2 separate regions of the Homo sapiens genome follow, and region 2 is linked to region 1. Evidence: promoter capture Hi-C in 16 types of primary human blood cells and fetal thymus (Javierre and others, 2016). All regions are on one chromosome and are shown on one strand. Each heading gives the region's core, a stretch centred on a gene start or on the middle of the fragment in contact. The rest is flanking DNA. Distances are from core to core; before and after follow the strand shown.

Region 1 (6,660 bases), core at 279-2,778:
GTTTTTTTCACTTCTGATTTTTCAACTTCACCATGGTGCAAAAGCAATATGCATTCAGTAGAAACCATGTTTGGGGTACCCATACAACCATTCTGTTTTTCACTTTCACTACAGTATTCAATATATCACATGGGATATTCGCCACTTTATTATAAAATAGGCTTTGTGATAGATGATTTTGCCCAATTTTATGCTATTGTATGTGTTTTGGGCACATTTAAGGTAGGCTAGCCTAAGCAAGGATGTTCAGCAGGTTAGGTGTATATTTAATGCGTTTTGACTTAAGATATTTTTTAACTTAAGGTGGATTTATTGGGATGTAATCTTATTGTAAGTCAAGGAGCACCTGCACTCCATAATAATTAAATATGATGATCTTTTATTTTAGCAGTTATGACTTGCCTTATAGGTGGCTATATCTAGGTATCTCACCCCTGAGAAATTATGAGTTCTTTGAGGACCCTGTTCATGTCTTGTACCAATTCAAACACATTAAAGGCATTTAATATGGATTTGATGAAGCAAGGGAGTGTCCAGAGAAGACCAGAGCATCTGTTCTCTCTACCAAAACAAAACTGTGATTGAGGAGGTGAATGTTCATGTATCTGTTCTTCCCTGTAAGGGTAGAGGGTAGGGAAGGAGAACATGGGAGCCTGGGCAGGAGAGGGTCAGAGCTGCATCTATAGAGAGACACCAGTTTGTAGTTACTCTGATGATGTATTAGTTTCCCAGGGCTGCTCTAATAAAGTACCACAAACTGGGTGGCTTAAACAACATAAATTTGTTGTCTTACAGTTTGGGTGGCTAGAAGTCAAGTCAAGGTGTCAGCAGAGCCAGTTCCTTCTGAGGACTCTCTCTTGTAGATGGCCGTCTTCTCTCTCTGTCTCTTCAGATCATCTTTCTGTATTCATGTCTGTGTTCAGATTTCTTCTTCTTATGAGGACACCAGCCATATTGATTAGTGACCACCCTAACAAACTCGTTTTAACTCGATCACCTCTGCAGTAACCACATCTCCATGTGAGGCCTCATTCTGAGGTACCGAAGGTTAGGACTCCAACATATGAATGTTGGAGGGGACACAATTCAGCCCATAGCAGGTGGGTTATCATGCTGGGCTTTAGTGCTTGTCAAGACCCAGCCTGTGCCAGTATGCACACTCACCAACTGCATCTGTCAAAATGTAGGCTCCTTAAAGAAATGCAAGCGCTAAAAACCATGTGTGGTGATTGCCATTTATCCTCTTATTGACAACCTAGTTCATTTCCCCGAGAGAGTGTTTTGTGTGGTCTGAAGCACCTGCCAGTCTATCTCTGCTGTACCCTCCCAAGACAAAAATACAGGAAGCCGAGCCATAGGTGACTACTGGCAACCACTGCCTTTGTGATTTCCTCTTTGGTTTCTTCTATTTTGTTCCCTTCCTTCACTCTGTGGCTTGTCTGGGCATTCACTCTTTGACCCTTGTGGCTAGTCCCTCCCCTTCTTCTTTATTGCCCTGAGTTATCTCCCTATTCCCATAACTCTAATCACTTTTTTCATGTTCTCCTTGAGTGAAGGATGAGGAAATTGAAAGCAGAGTATGCACCTTTTATTAGGAGATTCAAACTGCATCCTACTGGATTAGCCTCAAAAGTCCTAAAATACAAAGACATCCATCTGACAGATCACTGAGGGGAGGACTTGTTTTTCTGTTTTAGAATAGTTTCCGATTAAACTTTTTAGCTCAAGAAGAAAAGAAGCTAGTTATTTCTCACCCAGGAGTGGATTTGTGGTTTGGCTTCACCATGGCTTCCTGCCGTGCCTGGAACCTTAGGGTGCTGGTGGCTGTCGTGTGTGGACTACTGACTGGCATCATTTTGGGACTGGGCATCTGGAGGATTGTGATCAGGATCCAAAGAGGTAATGTTGTCCTGCTATGTTTAACTCAGAGTAAGAGAAGGTATGGGACCTCTGTCCCTGCCACCTGGTGCACAAGTACTGGGAGGTACCTTGTCCAGTCTGAGGCATTCCACCAAGGTGCCATTTATGGGATATAAAAGACCAAGTCAGTTAAGCCTAGCAGATGGTTGAATAGAAATGAATAGGTGTGGGTGTGAGTGGGCAGGGGGAAGAGTGACATAATTGAATTGGCCTCTTTATGCTCTTTTAACTCCAGACTGAATTGGTAGAAGAGTAATAATTAAAACGATTAGTAACACACATTTAGGTCTGTTTGGCTAAATTCAGGAAAGGGTAAATCGTTATGAACAAGGACACACACATGCATCAAACACATACACACACATGCATAACACACATACAATCAAACATACACAGAATGGAATTTCATTTTAAGAGAGAAGTTAAAGAAACTCATCACTAAGGTTTAAGTGAAATGATCTCATGGTTTGCATACAAATTTCCCACTTTCCAGATGTAGGAAACTAATCAAAAATTTAAAAACCATTTTTAAATGACTTTCCTGATTATTCAACGAACATTTGTTAGTCCCCCGCTGTGTGCCAGAGCTGGCCTGGAAAAGGAGGACGTGGGAGGGGAAGTAGTGAGTAAAACAATGATGTTAAAGAAAAGCCCGCTGGAACTCAGAACGCGAAATTTCAATGATCCTAATGCTGGATCCCTTGGGCTGTAGAGCTTCTCCGTAAAGGAATTCAATGTTGGATGGGCTACATACTCCCTTTCGTGAAAATCAGAGAAAGCTTCTAATGAAACAATAAATAAGGGTAAATAATGCCGATCGGGAAAGGCAGCAGGAGAGGCAGTATGCCCTCTGAGCAGGTAACTGGGGAGGACAGAAGGTTGGGGAGCTAGCAGGAGCATGGAGCATGGCTGCAAAGATCCAGTGTTGAAGACCAACAGAGGGATCTGACATACTGGCTGCTGATGGAGTGGTAGCTGGGGATGGATTTGTCCTCCCCCTACCCCACCGCCCTAACCAGTATTTAGAGAATACTGTATCGATAGTATTTAGAGAACTAGAATGAGAAAATTTACCAGAACAAAAATAGTAAAATTTAAACTTGGAGCAAATGTGTTTTTGTTTGTTTAAGGTTGTAAAATAGTTTCATTCAGGTTAAAAAATTATGAACTATGGATTTTACCCCATTAAGGCTGCCAAATTTATAAGACCTCATTTAAAGGACATACTTCACAAAGTTTTGTTTGTTTGTTTTTCCTTCCTTCCTTCCTTCCTTCCTTCCTTCCTTCCTTCCTTCCTTCCTTCCTTCCTTTCTTCTTTCCTTCCTTCCTTCCTTCCTCCCTTCCTTCCCCCCGTTCCTTTTTTCCTTTATGTAAGCGACATCTATTTTTAAAGGGAAATTTATGATGACTTATAAAGGACACAGTTATAGCAAAACCATTAAAAACAAGGACCAAAGTACAAAAACAACATGAGAAAGAGTGCAGGATGGGGGACAGAAAACCTGAAAGTTCAAGGCTTGGGGGGAGTTGCTGAAAATAAATACAAAATATATTCCCGAACTTTCTGAGTACTAAGATCCAAAAGGAGGCATAATAAGTAATAAAGATCCCATGTCTAACAATAGAGGCATACCAGCTCCTCAAAAAGAAAAACTTTTCTCTTGTTCTGAGAAGCATATTTCAATTGGCTGTTTATATAAGGGTCATCTCTTAGCTTTGGGGTAAACCCGATGGAAAAGGAGAGGGTTCTCACTGTCATTTAAAGAAAAAGAGTGAAAGACTGGCACCATTTGCTGTTACTATTTTGCCTTGTACATTTTATTGAGAGTGCATTTGAGTTGGTAAATTCTGTTTCTTTTCACTTCACTCCACTCCACTCTACTCCACTTCTTTTTATCCTATCCCATCCCATCCTATGTAATTGTTGAATATTCTTGCTTGGGTTCCTTTATTCAGGTATAGACATAAATTGTTTTTACATTTTTTTAAGGGGGAGAGAGGTCACACATATCTCTGAGAAACTGATGAAAGCTATAAATGTCTTAGTAGGGAAAATATATATAAACACACAAAATTTTGCATAAATTAATTTTATTGCATTCAAAATTTATTTTGAAGAATCACTCCAGGCTGGAGTAACATATATATAAATTAAAAGAACATATAAATTAAGTCTCTTTCACTTTTATTTTTCTTGGAAAAGTAATGGCCTCATTGTGAAAAATAAAAAAAAATTTCAAATTCTGCTCTGAGTAAATTTCAGTAAGAAGTTACTCTGATTTGGCAGTAAACACTGATGTACAACAATATTTATGCTATTTATGTATTTAATTATTATAATACCTATAGTTTTAAAAATTCTTACTATGTTCTAGGTACTATGCTAAAAACTTAGAGAAAATCTCAGTTTTGCCAGAACTCCAGCCTTTTCACATTGGGCATTCTTCATAGAAAAACACAAGAAGCAGTATAGCTTTTGGGCCCCTTCACTCTTGATGATGAAAGTAAAATGAAAACATAATTAAGCTTTATTATATTTCTTCCCATTGGCATTTTCCAACTTGTGCTAAGCCTGATATAATCATAGACAGATGTCCACAATCATAATGGTAGAAAATGTTTTCTTTAACTCCTCCCAAAGGGAGAGTATCTGAACCTCAAAACACATGAGTAGTGCCTTACTTGACCATATTCTACACCTCTTCTGGTTCGTAGAATTTCCTGCTCTTTGCCACCAGGACTGTTTTTTTCTTTATCCCCGCTTATCTCCAGATATTCTAACCTTCATTCTCTATCACAGGATACACCTGTTCTTCAGTCCTGCAAGAGATTTCAGGACGTTGAAATATTCCCAAACCCCAAGGTCTGACTTCATAGCATTGATAATTTTTGTTGATGTTGTTTTATTTTTGTTTTGAGAAGGAGTCTCATTCTGTCTCCAGGCTGGACTGTGGTGGCATGATCTCGGCTCACTGCAACCTCTGCCTCCTGAGTTCAAGCGATTCTCCTGCCTCAGCCTCCCGAGTAGCTGGGACTACAGGCACTCACCACCACGCCTGGCTATTTTGTGTATTTTTAGTAGAGATGTGGTTTCACCATGCTGACCAAGCTGGTCTTGAACTCCTGACCTTAAGTGATCTGCCCGCCTCGGCCTCCCAAAGTGCTGGGATTACAGGCGTGAGCCACCGCACCTGGCCTGATAATTCTTACACTGTGGAAAATACAGGTTGTTATGAAAGGTCAATGAGAGTTTATTGTTTGTCAAAAAATAATCTGACCATAGATACTTGGCTTTAATTTCACTCATTTACAGTACTTCTTTCAGAGGCAAACTCAATAAATCTAACTCATGTGACTGTTCCTGGAGTATATTTGCATTTGGGGGTTTAAAAAATAAAAAAAGTCCAGAGTAGAGTTTTCTGGAGAGAGAAAGTTGGTTTTAGGCAGCTATAGTGTTCTTTTGTCTTAATCCTGGTGTTGTAAATCTTTCTTCTGCTCCTTAACCAGTCTTCCTTCTTGCTTCCTCACATAACCACCCCCTAAATTAAAAAAAAAAAAAGTCTATTAAAGGGAAGGGATTTTTAAAATAAATTTATTCCAGTTTGGCTATGTAATTGGCTGAGGGGCATGGATTATTTTAATATCAGAATCAGTGATGTTTAAAGTGTTGATTCCATTTTAAAAGTTACTTTCTTGAACTAAGGGGCTAGAATCTTGGCTTAGTGGATTATTCCTGGATTTCAAGGTATTAGATATTTTTACTCGAAATTCTGGATACTTGCTGTTCTTTGATGACACAAACGTTGACGATCTAACATGGAATATAGTGGTTAAAATGGACACTTGAGAGTATAGGGGAAAAATGTACAAGAGTAGGGGAAAGAAAACTCTGGGGCCAAACTACCTGAGTTTAGATCCCAATAATGCCCCTCACTAGCTTTGAGCAAATTATTAACTTTGAGCAAATTATTCAACATTTTTGAGTCTCAGTTTTCCTGCTTATTATGTGCATAGTAGTAAACCCATGAGGCTTAAATGAGTCAATATATTAAAAATTTAAGATGATGTCTAGGACGTTGTAAGTACTTAATAATTGTTGGCTGCTATCCTCTAGGTATTTTTAGATAATTCAGTGCAGAGCATAGTTTTCTCCACTCCCTGGTTTATACCTTGAATAGATACCATTGACCTAGATTGGACCTTTGGATTGAGACTCAAATTACCAATCCAAAAGTTTACAATAGGTTTAATCATTAAGTTCAATTGACTAGCTCAAAACTGAAACAGAAACAGTTCTAAGAACTGGCACATCTTCCTGTATTTGCCTTTCAATACTTATGCTACACTGTACCATCAAGAAAAATGTTTATTAAAATATTTAGTCATGCATACCAAAGTATAATAAGAATTAAAAAAGGAAAAATTATTTAACCAGTTTATTGAAATATTTAACCAGGTAGTTAATACCGGACAAAGTTTACCTTAAATAAAGACTATGTGTATTTTATTTGTATAAATCTTTCAGGGTTTTTCTCTTTACAACCAGAATAAACTTTCCCAAGCATTGTCCTCTCATTTAAGAGTTAACTTTATTGTCACCAAACTATTTCAAATTAGGACAAATGAGAGATGCCTGGATTTTAAACCCCAAAAGACTAAGCTAGGCACTAGAAAGGATCTGCAGATGAAATTTCTTAGACTAAGGAAATATGTTTTTATTTCCCTACTTATTAAAATCAA
Region 2 (6,556 bases), core at 2,157-4,656, 140 kb before region 1:
TAGGTTATATGCAATTACTATGTCATTTTATATAAGAGATATGAACATCATCGGATTTTGGTATCTGTGAGGATCCTGGGCCAACCTCCTGTGCATACTGAGCGACGACCATATACAGTTTGAGAGTGTGACTCTAAACAAGCAGGACCCTAAAACTTGAATTAATTCTGCCTATTGTAGGCCAAACACTGTCATAGATGACTCTCTCACAATGAAAAACTGTATTTGGAGTTGATATTTTCCCTCCTAAAATGGAAACTTTTTTTGCTTATAAAAGTAATAGCTGACACACTTTCAAGTAATGCAGAAAACAGTATGACAGCCTCCCAGAAAAGCCAAGTGTTGTTATGACCTTAATACAGCTCATTATTACTGTCAAGACATTCTGGTTACTCTACTCTAGGGGGCAGACTTGAACCAGCATTTGGACAGGTAATGCTGGACGCAAGCCTCAGTGTTTGGCCAAAGACAAAATCACTATCGTTACGTTTTTCTTTTCTTTCTTTCTTTCTTTTTTTTTTTTTTAGAGTCTGTCATCCAGCCTGGAGTACAGTGGTGTGATCATAGCTCACTGCAGCCTTGAGCTCCTGGGCTCAAATGATCCTCCCCACTCAGCCTCCTAAAGGGCTGGGATTACAGGTGTAAGCATCAAATCTCTTAAAAGCTTCTTCACTATCATGAGAAAAACATGGGGGAAACTGCCCCCATGATCAAATCACCTCCCACCAGTTCCCTCCCTCAACACGTGGGGATTACAATTCGAGATGAGATTTGAGTGGGGATTCAGAGCCAAACCATGTCAGATGGTAAACAAAAATCAAAGAAAAATATAGCATAATGTCATGAAGAATCAAAAACAGTTAGGAAATAGAGATAACGGGAATGCTTTTTAAGAGTGAGTTTCCAAAAAAGCCTGTCTGATGAGGTGGTATTTGAGCTGAGGTATGAATGAAATGAGGGAAAAGGGTCTCAGGCAGCAGCGCAGCAGTGTAAAGGCACTAAGGTAAGAGCTTGCTTGGCTTCTTTTAAAAATAGCAACATATTCCTGGAAAGGAGTGCATGACAGGTGTGCAATGGAAAACGAAGCTGGAAAATGCAAAGGGTGGATAATCTGTTACCTAGGTGGTTGTTATTCTAAGTGTCATGGGAAGCTATTGGAAGGTTTTGAGTGAATCACATGGTGTGACAATTTCAGGGAGGGATACATCACAGAGGCAATATTGCTATGCCACTTCAGACATATTAGCATGCTGCTTTCCCAAAGTTCCGTCATTAGTCATTGTTAGCTCTGTGGCTAGAAGACAAAGAAGAGTTTCTTGAAGTGGGAAAAGAAATTATGGTACTCTCCTTCTAAGTTGAGAATATCCTCTTGGCAAACAGCATGGTGCATGAATAGGTTTGTTGAATGAGTGAAAGAAATAATGAATGAAACAACAGTGAAGGCATTTTTTTTTTTGAGACAAAGTCTCACTCTGTCATCTAGGCTGAAGTGCAGTGGTGCGATCTCCTCACTGCAACTTCTGTTTCCCGGGTTCAAGTGATTCTCCTGCCTCAGCCACCCTAATAGCTGGGATTACAGGCATGCCCCAACATGCCTGACTAAGTTTTCTATTTTTGGTAGAGATGGGGTTTTGCCATGTTGGCCAGGCTGGTCTCGAACTCCTGGCCTCAAGTGATCAGCCCAGCTTGTCCTCCCAAAATGCTGGGATTACAGGTGTGAGCCACCATGCCCAGCCAGCAAAGCCATTTCTTAAGTATTATAAACATCTTGAAACAGTTTCCTCTCTGCTTTGCTAATTCATGGATATTTACTAAGGGCTGCATGTACTGCAGCGTAATAGGTGGGGCACACCAAGATGAGTGAGACACAGTCCTTGCCTTCAAGGAACTTCAATTTTTGTTGGAAAAATAGACATATACACAAAACAGAATGCTTATATTGAGATTTTGGCTGAGGCATCAAGATACACAGCTGTCCTTCACTATCCATAGGGGATTGATTCCAGGACCCCCTGTGGATACCAAAATCCATGGATGCTCAAGTTTCCTATATAAAATGGTGTAGCATTGGCATATAACCTATGCATATCGTTCTGTATACAGTTGACTTTTGAACAATGTTGGCTTAAACTGTGCAGGTCCACTTATAAGCAGATGTTTTCAACCAAACACAGATGGAAAATACATTATTGAGGAATGTCAAACCAGTGTATATGGAGCACCAACTCTTCTTATACGTGGGTTCCAAAGGGCTGACTTCAAGACCTGGAGTATGCATGGCTTTTGGTGTACTTGGGAGTCCTGGAACAAATCCCCCACATATAACAAGGAATAATAACTGTACTTTTAATCATTTCTAGGTTGTTTATAATACCTAATACAATGTGAATGCTATATAACTAGTTGTTATACTGTATTATTTAGGGGATAATAAAAAGAAAAACAAATTTGTGGATGTTCAGGGCAGACACAACCATTTATCTTTTCTCAAATATTTTTTCATGGTTGGTTGAATCCCTGGATGTGGAACCCACAGATACAGAGGGCTGACTGTAACAGATGCTATGTACCAAAATTAGGAGTTTTGCAAAATTGATAAAATACCTAAATGTAAACCTGAAACTATAAATTTCCTAAAAGAGAACAAAGGGAAAAAGTTTTTGGACACTGGCAGTGGCAGTAATTTTTTGGATATCATACCAAAAGCTCACTATAAAAGCAAAAATAAATAAATGGGACTATATCAAACTAAAAAGCTTCTGCATAGCAAAGGAAACAACAAAATGAAATGGCAACCTACAGATTGGGAAGAAATATTTGCAAACTATATATGTATAAGGGGGTTTAAGCTGCCATATGAAGAAGCCCGTGGGGAAGGAATTGAGGGTGACCTCTTGCCAGTAGTCATCAAGGAAATGCCCTCATTCTGAAAACCTGCAAAGAACTGAATCCTGCTAACAGCCATGTGAACTTGGAAATGGATCCTTCTTTAATCGAGCTTCACATGACTGACAACTTGATTGCAGCCTTGTTGATAAATACCTAGGCAGGTAGGGGTGGGTCCCCGGTGAAATTCAACCTTCAAGTCAGAAACAGTCCCAGGTAAATCCTTGAACCAGATTGAGAACCCGCCCTCCTGTTTGGCGTGCTTTCCTCTGATTGATACTCAGCCTTCAACTATTTTACATATACCTACCCTTTCCTAATTGGTTTCCTACACTATCATGCCCATTTTTAAGTGGTGTCTTTGACTTTTTTGCATACTCACAAGCTAATCAGCACGCACTCCCTATTCTGAGCCCATAAAAAGCCCTGGGCTCAGCCATATTGGAAACTCTCTTACCTTCAGGCAGGGGAACTACCCCTGTGTAACTTCCCCACTAAAAGCTGTTTCATCACTCAGTAAAACTTCCTGCCTTGCTCACTCTTCCAGTGTCCATGTATCTACTTCTTCCTGATTGTGAGACAAGAACCCAGACCAAGCTGAACCTTAGTTCAGAGCAAAAAATTCTGCATCATTTTGGAGGCTTGTCTGGCATTTGTCAGAAGGTTGAGTAAAATGTGGACCCAACAATCTCTTTCACTTTTGTTTCTGAGCTTTCTTATCCTCAGACTTTTTCGGAAGGCAGGGGATACTGCAACCTGCCCCCTGCCCCCCTGTTGCTCTCAGGGGTCAGGAATGTTGGCCTTTGTCCAACCCAGTCTTTTCTATGGCATTTTCCTTCTTTTTTCAGGACTGTAATGGCACCTATCTTTTAGTGGGCATGTTCCACCCCCACCCCAATGGCCACAGGCATGCACACAAGACAGATTGGCAAGCTCCCTGCCCTGCTCCCCTCCTGGCTGGGGCACACAGCACAAGGGTCCCTCATGGCTGGCTGGCCAGCATTTCTCACTTGCCGTCCCCTCCTGCTAGGTGCCCAAGGAGTCTTTCCTCCCCTTGCTGAGCCAAGAAGGAGGAGACAGCAATTAAAAGTTTCTTTTCCTGTTGAAGAAACCCACTTGCATAAGAATAAATAAGAGGTTTCTACCCAAGGCATCTTCCCAGCCCTGAACTTAAGCTTTTTTTTCTTCCTTTTCTCCACCCTGTCAGCAGTTAACACAGCCCTGTAGATATAGGGAGTTTTCTATGCAAGAGTTTTTTTTCCTCCTTTTGGAAGGCATCTTGTTAGGCCACAGGACACCCTTTTTCGCTCCCTTGTTTGAAGAGGACCCAGCTCCTCAGCTTTACCTTAGCATTTGGCTTATGGTAAGGAGGCAGCAGAGGAGCAGTCCCGCTGGCTGCTGGCTGCAGTCTGGCGAGGGACACCTGGGACTTGATGAGTCCATGTACCCACTGAGGCAGTTCTTTTGTCCCAAACTCAATTCCAAGCTTAGAGTTGAAGACTCAGGATAGAAAATTGAATATGAGGGGTCCAGAGGCAGACAACAATGGAAGTTAAAATGCAAAGCATAAGTGACCATGGCTAATTCCTGCCAATCAAACCAAGCCTCCTGTTTCATGGATAGAGGTCATGCCTGTATCCATGGCATAAATGAGGCCTAGGGAACTCAAAGGTTATGACAACAGGCAGGGACAGGGCATATGTGGGTGAGTTCAAATATTCCCACCCCCTTGGCCCTTCTGTTACTATGAGTGAAAGCCACATTGGCACCCATGGGTGGCACCTTGTCAAGGTCGCTGGGACTCAGATACAAGGACATAAGAAAGAAAAGAGATGCCTATTTTTTCTCTCCCTCATGTACCCTGGGTATTCACTGGGAAGTAAAAGGAATTGGGGATGGCTTATCCACTCTTCCCAGCTGGGTAACAATTCATCTTCCCAAAATGGGGTCAGTAGCACTTGCTCTGTTTTAGTCCATGCACCCACTGAGGCAGTTCTTTTGTCTAAAGAACCATTCATCTTTAGTTCGTACCCCCCTTGAATGCATCCTGAGTCCTGGGGGGGCATCTTGGAAAAAAAGCCTTCTTTTTCCTTTTTCCTCCTCTGTCCTCTCTTTGTGGATGGGTAATTGCATCCCCATACTATAGGACACTCTCCTCAGATGCATCCTCTAAACTAGGAAAAATTAATTTACCAAACCTTAAACTGCTTGGCTTAGAATTGAGCTCAGGGGAAGGGAACCCAGAAGCCTGACATGCCAGCAAAAGGGTAAAAGTTTTTTTTTTACCCAGTCAGACTTTTGGCCTTGTTAGGCCAAAGTCTTTTGGCCTCACTCTTGCTGTGCAAACCGATAGAAAAAATGGTGAGGATAACTGCTTATATTCTCCATAAAGTTTTGATTAATGAAAAATGATTTATGAGGCTTGTCTTAAGCTATAGCCAATCTGGTGTGCTTTGTGTGTTTTTCTGTATGGTTCTGTCAGAAAGAGGGGTGCCTTAGGATAGAATGTTGGCCTAGGACCCTATATGCCTGCTGTTCAAGTTAGCCCAACAAACTGGTCAGTATCAAACTTTGCTGCAGGCCACCATATTGTTTTATGTCCTTGGGAGCTTGAAATGTAACCACGTGGCAGTACTTAACTTTAGTCTCTGCCATTTTACAATGGTGGCCTGTGTTCAATCCTGGCTTGGAGAATGAGTACTTTCAAGTAAACAGCTGTGTGACTTCTACCATTTGCTGATTCTCTTCCCATCCATGAACAACTTCTAGCTTCCATTCTCTGAGTTACCTTTAGAGGTTCTAGATTTTGTAAAAACTGCTTACCACCTTTTTGAATATATACCTCATACATTCATAGTTAAGTCATAACCTTAATTGAAGCTTGTTGGTTTCACCTGTGAGGTTACTTTTGGTAAAGTTCAAAAGCCAGAAATGTTGGCGGGTTCACATGGCTAAGGTTGGGTAACAAGGGATTTAAAAGGATTTTCTTAAAGAATGCTCAGCTTAATTAAAAGTGGATATCAAAGCTATAGGTATATTTAAGAGACCTTTATGTTTTTCTGGAAAAGGTTTTTTTCTCAGTTGACTGAATTACTTTTCTCCATTTTGTCTTGCCACTCTTAATGCACACATGAGAGGCCGTAGATAACTTCTCGGCACATGGGACTCTTTGGGAAAAACAGAGAGAGTGCCACTGACCCCATTTTGGGAAGAAACCTCTGTTTTCCTCATAGAACCCCAGGAATTGAAAGTGGATAGATCCCTCTCAAAATCTATTTTTTTCTTCCAGCTATGCCTGTTTATTGGTCCCTAGAAACTGCATGCTTTCCTAGCCTTGTGTATTAGTTGGTTTTCACACTGCTGATAAAGACATACCCAAGACTGGGAAAATTATAAAGAAAAAGACTTTTAAGGACTTCTAGTTCCACCTGGCTGGGAAGGCCTCACAATCATGGTGGAAGGTGAAAGGCATTTCTTACGTGGTGGTGGCAAGAGAGAGAGCTTGTACAGAGAAACTCCCATTTTAAAAACCATCAGATCTCATGAGACTAATTCACTGTCATGAGAACAGTCCAGGAAAGACCCATCCCCATGATTCAATCATCTCCCACCGGGTCCCTCACACGACACATGAGAATTATGGGAGCTACAAGATGAGATTTGGGTGGGG

What was found. The method cuts DNA at HindIII sites, captures the fragments that hold promoters and counts their contacts. A CHiCAGO score of 5 or more calls a contact.
Region 2: a contact is called between a fragment that was not itself captured here and the fragment with the promoter of ADGRG7 in region 1, in 1 of 17 cell types (endothelial precursors). The highest score is 5.9, in endothelial precursors.

Annotation. Positions count from the first base shown.
Region 1 is chr3:100,608,073-100,614,732 of GRCh38, forward strand. It overlaps ADGRG7 (adhesion G protein-coupled receptor G7), which reads left to right and starts at 1,529. Exons shown (of 16, transcript NM_032787.3): 1 at 1,529-1,899. The coding sequence starts at 1,785. The HindIII fragment of the contact is 7,171 bases long and covers 1-2,697 here.
Region 2 is chr3:100,462,711-100,469,266 of GRCh38, forward strand. No RefSeq gene overlaps it. Among named protein-coding and RNA genes, the nearest start is that of TMEM45A, 27 kb to the right of the region's middle. RefSeq lists enhancers at 3,275-3,584, 3,314-3,814. The HindIII fragment of the contact is 1,305 bases long and covers 2,755-4,059 here.